Linked DNA regions of Homo sapiens: region 2 is linked to region 1. Evidence: promoter capture Hi-C in 16 types of primary human blood cells and fetal thymus (Javierre and others, 2016). All regions are on one chromosome and are shown on one strand. The core of a region is centred on a gene start or on the middle of the fragment in contact, and the rest is flanking DNA. Distances in the headings are between cores, read along the strand shown. Region 1 holds the start of COX6B1 (cytochrome c oxidase subunit 6B1). Region 2 holds the start of LOC101927522 (a long non-coding RNA gene).

Evidence for each region. The method cuts DNA at HindIII sites, captures the fragments that hold promoters and counts their contacts. A CHiCAGO score of 5 or more calls a contact.
Region 2: a fragment that was not itself captured here is called in contact with the fragment with the promoter of COX6B1 in region 1 in 1 of 17 cell types (neutrophils); the score reaches 5.1 in neutrophils.

Annotation. Positions count from the first base shown.
Region 1 is chr19:35,646,841-35,650,258 of GRCh38, reverse strand. COX6B1 (cytochrome c oxidase subunit 6B1) reads right to left here and starts at 1,936. Exons shown (of 4, transcript NM_001863.5): 1 at 1,856-1,936. RefSeq lists enhancers at 1,675-1,724, 1,885-1,944. The HindIII fragment of the contact is 14,427 bases long and covers 1-3,418 here.
Region 2 is chr19:35,431,838-35,435,255 of GRCh38, reverse strand. LOC101927522 (a long non-coding RNA gene) reads left to right here and starts at 603. Exons shown (of 7, transcript NR_187751.1): 1 at 603-936; 2 at 1,418-1,667; 3 at 2,154-2,397. RefSeq lists an enhancer at 1,163-2,362. The HindIII fragment of the contact is 997 bases long and covers 1,220-2,216 here.

The DNA of each region.
Region 1 (3,418 bases), core at 687-3,186:
GGCCAGGGGGGTGGATCACCTGAGGTCAGGAGTTCAAGACCAGCCTGGCCAACATGGTGAAACCCTGGCTCTACTAAAAATATAAAAATCAGCTGGGTGTGGTGGCAGGTGCCTATAATCCCAGCTACTCTGGATGTTGAGGCAAAAGAATCGCTTAAACCCAGGAGGCGGAGGTTGTAGTGAGCCGAGATTGTGCCAGTGCACTCCAACCTGGGCAACAGAGCAAAAACACTGTCTCAAAAAAAAAAAAAAATACAATTTTGAAGTAATCATGAATGAATATAGTATTTTGTGACATTTGCTGTTATAATGTGGTATAAGAATACCTGTGATTTTGGGTGGAGCACAATGGTTCACACCTGTAATCCCAGCACTTTGGAATGCTGAGGTGGGAGGATCGCTTGAGCCCAGGAGTTCAAGACCAGCCTGGGCAACATGGTGAAACCCCATCTCATCTCTACAAAAAAAATATTAAAATTGGCCGGAAGAGGTGGCTCACGCCTGTAATCCCAGCACTTTGGGAAGCCGAGGTGGGTGGATCACCTGAGGTCAGGAGTTCAAGACCAGCTTGGCCAATATGGTGAAACCCCATCTCTACTAAAAATACAAAAAATTAGCTGGGCATGGTGGCGTGCACCTGTAATCCCAGCTACCAGGGAGGCTGGGGCAGGAGAATCACTTGAACCCAAGAGGCGGAGGTTGCAGTGAGCCGAGATTGTGCCATTGTACTCCAGCCTGGGCGATACAGCAAGATCTTGTCTCAAAAAAAAAAAAAAAAATTAAAATTAGCCAGGTGTGGTGGCGCGTGCCTGTGGTCCCAGCTACTGAGGCAGGATCGCTTGCACAGGGAAGCAGAGGTTGCAGTGAGCCAAGATTTCTCCACTGCACGCCAGCCTGGGTGACACAGTGACCCTGTCTCAAAAAAGGAGAAAAACAAAAAAAAGGAATGTCTATGATTTTCATTGCTAACAAAATCACCGCTGCTGCTAGTACTACCGAGGTTGCTGCCTCAAAAGGTTAGTAAAAACACAGATGCAATTCCACCCCCCACCCCAATTCAAGTACTAGCATTCCTTGAATTCTACCAACTCTGCGGACCCAGGGTTAAACACCTTTAATATAATGTCTCTGAAGAAGTGACAGTGTTCGTCGGGAGCCTGAGAGAAAAGTATCTATATTCCAGGGAATCCTAGGAGTCGTGGGGCTATACAGAGACTTGCAGAGCAGTGTCAAATTCAAGCGACGCAAGGTGGTGGTGGGGGTCTGGAGCACTAAAACAGTCTTTCGGTGGGGAAGTGGGGTGTAAAACACCAGCTGCTGGGGCACAGACGCAGTAGGAAGGATCGTTACCGGCGAGATCTCTACCCGGTATCTGAGGATGAGGGTGCATCGGAGATGACGCTGCGGCCCCTCCAACGTCCAAAAGGGAGGATGGACTGGACACCCGGGAGCCAGGCTGCGGCCCAGGCAAGCCGCGAGAGGCCACGCCTGTGAATTAGCCATGAAGAGCCCTGGAGGACAAACTCCTGGGCCAAATCCTGGTCGCTGTGTAGGTTCAGCTAGGTCGCTTGGTATCTCTGAGCCTGTTTACTGACAAAAGGGGATAATCGCAGGCCCTATCTCATAGGGCTGGTGGGAGAGTTAAATAAATTAATTAAAGTTGTTTGGGATGTTGCCTGGCATCAAGGAAGAACCGTATCATTGTTAGCTCTTACGATGAACAGAACAGGGCCCCGGGGTCCAGGGAGGCCGGACGCCGCCAGCCGGAAGCCTCAACCCGTTCTCAGGGAAGCTGGGGTCCGGCTCCTCAGCCCGCTAGACTGGGGTCCCAGGTTACAGAACCCTCCACACTCACCTAAAGGCACCCCGGATTCAACCTGCAGCTCAATGTGACCCTCAGCAAAGACACCACAGTCGGACAGGAAGCGGAACTACTACCAGCCGGAAGCTGAGAGAGGTGGGGACTACGGGAGTCTTGCGAGCGGCTTCAGCTCCCTCCCAGGAGGAGGCCACTGAAGTCATTCAAGCCACGCCCAGCAAGAGAACTACGACTTTCTATTGGGCTAAATGCTTGTTCATCCTCACTTCTGGCCCAATCGTGAGCTTGCGCGGCTGGGGCTCGGGCGCCCGTGGGTTACCCGATCTCATCACCTCTGTGTCTTCACTCGGAGAGAGTGTTATAGATCCCGGGGCTGGCTGGAGGGTAGGTGTGGAGAAAAATGTCCCAGCGAAAGTACTTTTATTCATGCAAGAAATATTTATTGAACGCTTTTTCTGTGTCAGGTATTTCTTTTCTTTAAATTTTTTTTTTCTTTTTTTTAAATTTTTGAGACAGGGTCTTACTCTATGGCCCAGGCTGGAGTGCAGTAGCGCGATCTCAGCTCACTGCAACCTCCGCCTCCTGGGTTCAAGCGATTCTCCCGCCTCATCCTCCCGAGTAGCTGGGATTACAGATGCGCACCGCTACTCCTGGATATATATATGCATTTTATAGAGATGGGGTCTTGCTGTGTTACCCAGGCTGGACTCGAACTCCTGGTCTCTAAGCGATCCTCCCGCCTCGGCCTTCCAAAGCGTTAGGATTACCGGCGTGACCCACCGTATCCAGCCATCAGGCACTTTACGGGTTGAGAAAGCACGCTGCACAAAACACAAAAATCCCTACCCTTAAAATATATATATAGAGAGAGAGACGGAGTCTCACTCTGTCGCCCAGGCTGGAGTGCAGTGGCACGAACTTGGCTCACTGCAACCTGCGTCTACTCGGTTCAAGCGATTCTCCTGCCTCAGCCTCCCGAGTAGGTGCGATTACAAGCGCACGCCACCACTCCCGGCTAATTTTGGTATTTTTGGTAGAGATGGGATTTCACCATGTTGGTCAGGTTGGTCTTGAACTCCTGACCTCAGGTGATCTGCCCACCTCGGCCTCCCAAAATGCTGGGATTACAGGCGTGAGCTGCCCTACCTGGCCAATTTGGCTTTTTTTTTTTTTTTTTTTTTTTTTTTTTCAGACAGAGTTTTGCTCTTGTTGCCCAGGCTGGAGTGCAGTGGTGTGATCTTGGCTCACTGCAACCTCCACCTCCCGAGCTAGAGCGATTCTTCTGCCTCAGCCTCCCCAGTAGCTGGGATTACAGGCATGCGCCACCACACCTGGCTAATTTTGTATTTTTAGTAGAGATGCGGTTTGTCCATGTTGGTCAGGCTGGTCTTGAACTTTTGACCTCAGGTGATCTGCCCGCCTTGGCCTTCCAAAGTGCTGGGATTACAGGCGTGAGCCACCGTGCCCGGCTATATCTGTTCTTTTACATTATGTTTACCTCTTTTTGCCTCCCTCAACAGAAAAGAATTATCATAAAGGAAGAATTTTTGTCTGCCTTATTCATTCACCATTGTATCTAAAGCAGTGCCTGGCACACAG
Region 2 (3,418 bases), core at 469-2,968, 210 kb after region 1:
TGCATGTTAACATATCTGTACATTTGTGTATGACCACCCAGGTTGAGATGCAGGCCATTTTCAGCACCCTAGAGGCCCTTTTATTCCCTCTCAGTCAGCAAACCTTCCACTCCTAAGATAACCACTTTTCCAGCTTCTACCTCTTTTTTTTATCTATTTATTTTATTTATTTATTTATTTATTTATTTTTGTGAGACAGGGTCTCTGTAGAGTGAGTGCTCATATGAGCACTCCCAGGCTGGAGTGCAGTGGTGCGATCTTGGCTCACTACAACCTCTGCCTCCCGGTTTCAAGCAATTCTTCTGCTTCTGCCTCCCGAGTAGCTGGGGTTACAGGCGCATGCCAACACACCCAGCTAATTTTTATATTTTTAGTAGAGATGGGGTTTCGCCATGTTGGACAGGCTGATCTCAAACTCCTGACCTCAAGTGATCTGCCCACCTCCGCCTCCCAAAGTGCTGGGATTACAGGCATGAGCCACCATGCTCGGCCTTGTTTCTATTTTCTTTGACACAAGCACTGTTTATCTTCCAGTGTAAGAACGCAATCAACCATAGCACTGTGGGATAGCAGCCAGGAGGCTGGCTGTATCCTGCTGCAGCAGCCACCACACATGGAGGGCGGAGGGACAGCCACCCTGTTGTGTAGCTCGGAGCAGCTGTGTCCTTCAGTGCAGGTCCAGCCAAGAGCCGTGGGCCACAGATGACGCTGGTGGGGAAGCAGAGGGCAGACTAGGCAGAGGCAAGGCTTTCCTGTGCCCTGAGCTGTCAGAGATGGGCCAGGGCCTTCAGCTTCCTCGATAGGGCAGAAGTGACCACGCTGGCTCCATTCAGCAAAGGACGTGGACGGAGCTGCCGGGCTTGTCTGAGAGGAGGAGAAATGTGGAATTGAGTGAGGCTCTCTAAGAAGGTTCTGCTGGAGTTGAGAAAAATTAGGGTGAGGCACCTCCCCGATTTTATGTCCTTTTTCCTGGGTCCAGCCTCCTGAACAGCTACCATTCGCTTCTGTGAGACACCTGTCGGTGCCTCCTTTTCCAGCCCTTAATGGAACGGTGAGTGAGGTTCCCTGACTGGGGTGGAGTCTGCTTGTGAGTTTCCCCATCCCATGTCTCTCTGACTCCTGCTCCAACTCCTTACTTCGCCAGTTCCTCTCCCAGCCACCTCAGACTTCCCATACCACCCTCCCTGGACAGGAAGCGTTTTTACAGGAGTTTGAAGCTTCAGGAGTGCCCTCCGGCCACATGAAGACAAGGCGCTAACAAACATGGCGTTCTGCAAATTGCACCATCGCCAACTCCTGTCTTACTCTCACAGAGGTCTCTTGGGCTCTTCTGAGAAGGGTGAATGAACTTGGTTGGAGGGAAGAGAGGGGTTTGGTGGCTCTTAGTAAAATTGCTTCACGCAGTGACCTTTGGCAGTTTAGGATAATAACCTGTGCAGAGAGAGGGTCTCCTGTCCTGAAGTCACAGCCCGGATCTCCAGGCTGGCTCTGCTGCCTCTGAATGATTTGTGGGTCACACACGCCAACAGCATCGCCAAGGGCTGACATCAGCCTGCTTGAGCCACGGAAACTGAATGGGCAAGGATGAGTTCCCCAGCACAGAGGGAGGCATCCTCTGTCAAGACCATCTGCGCATGTGCTGTGCAGTCTCCAGTCTGCACTGTGAGGTTAGTACTTCTTCCTCTCTCTAGAAAGTGTAATGGGGGCCAGGCATGATGGCCCACACCTGTAATCCTAGCACTTTGCGAGGCTGAGGTGGGCGGATTGCCTGAGCTCAGGAGTTTGAGACCACCCTGGGCAACATGGTGAAACCCTGTCTGTACTAAAATACAAAAAAATTTAGCTGGGTGTGGTGGCGGGCATGTGTAATCCCAGTGACTCAGGAGGCTGAGGCAGGAGAATCGCTTGAACCCGGGAGGCAAAGGTTGCAGTGAGCCGAGATCATGCCACTGTACTCTAGCCTGGGCAAAAGAGCGAGACTGGCTCAAAAGAAAGCATAACAGAATACTCATAACTGACAGTGACGTTGTAACAGCTTACCTTATATCCTCTCATTTCTTTGTTTACTTAAACTTCCAAAGCCTAGTTTTTTCAGTATTACCAGGAACCATGGACTTACATTTCTTGCCTCTTGGTGTGTTGCCACATCCCAGCAGTGTGTCTCAACGGCTTTTGAGAACTGCTTCGAGAGGGGACCAGATGCGCAGAGACAAGCTTCCAGCCTGGCTAGGGACGGACCCTCTGGGGATGCTCCTCTCTGGCCGGGCAGCAGTAGAAGCACCTGCCTCCATCCACATCCAGACGCCATTCCCTTTTCTTCACCGCTGCTTCCCATCAGATGGTCCCCAGGAGTGGCAACCTCCCACTTGGTCTCGCAGGAGTCCCAGTGCTTCTCAGGTGTGTGTGCCACATCCCTCTTCTCTGAACACACAGTGGTCAGGGTGCCTGCACAGGGAAGGGCACCACAGTCCACCCTGGGAAAGGTCTTCAGTCTTCGGGAAAGAGCCTGTAAGCACCTTGACTGCTCTTCTTCTCTAGGGCAGAGAGCTTTCTTATCCACAGGGGTCCTTAGTCAGAGAGAGGGAGCGCACTCGGTGAGCTCTTTCAGAGGCAGCAGAGCCCTCTGCCTCTCCCCAAATCCCTGCTCCTACAAGTCGAATTAATCTCTCCTAGAAATCCAAGTCCTAACTTCTTCCAGGCGTCTTTTTACATCCACTGTTTGCATAGCCCACCCTTTCTTCTTTGGAGGATCCCCTCAGGTAACTTCCATCTGCTCCTCAGTGTGTCTTACCCCTTCCTTCTGTTCTTTCTTCACCTCCCTCCCTCTCCACCTCCACACTGGACTATATCAAATTCCTGTTCATTTTTTAGCATGGCCCAGTCAAAGCAGGTTAATCTCTCAGTCAGCAGAGGACATTTCACAAAAATTGGGGCCGCTAAATCACAAAAATATTCTCTAAGTCCAGGGCCAGCCCAGAAAAAATGCCCCAAGTCCAGGCAGCCCCCCAGAGTCTGCCGCCGTCTGGAAAATCCGGCTCAGCTCTTGCTCCTGCACATCCTCTCCTTTCCAGTGCTCTGTGTCTGGTCCCTGTCCCACCTCCTCTCCTTTCCCCAGTGTCTTCTGTCTGAATTCTGTGGGCCCAGGACAGCCCCAGCCTTCTCAAAGTCACCTGCATGTCTCTTGGATTAGGCAGCTGAGTGCAAGGTAACAACCAGATCATGCATTTTCATCTCTCCATGGATGGTTGGGGATAGAGCATCACAAGACAGGCATTGTGGCTGGGTGTGTTGGCTCATGCCTATGATCCCAGCACTTGGTGGGAGACCAAGGCAGGTGGATTGCTTGAGCTCAGGAGTTCAAGACCAGCCTGGGTAACATGGTGACACCTGATCTCTACAAAAAAATACAAAAATTAGC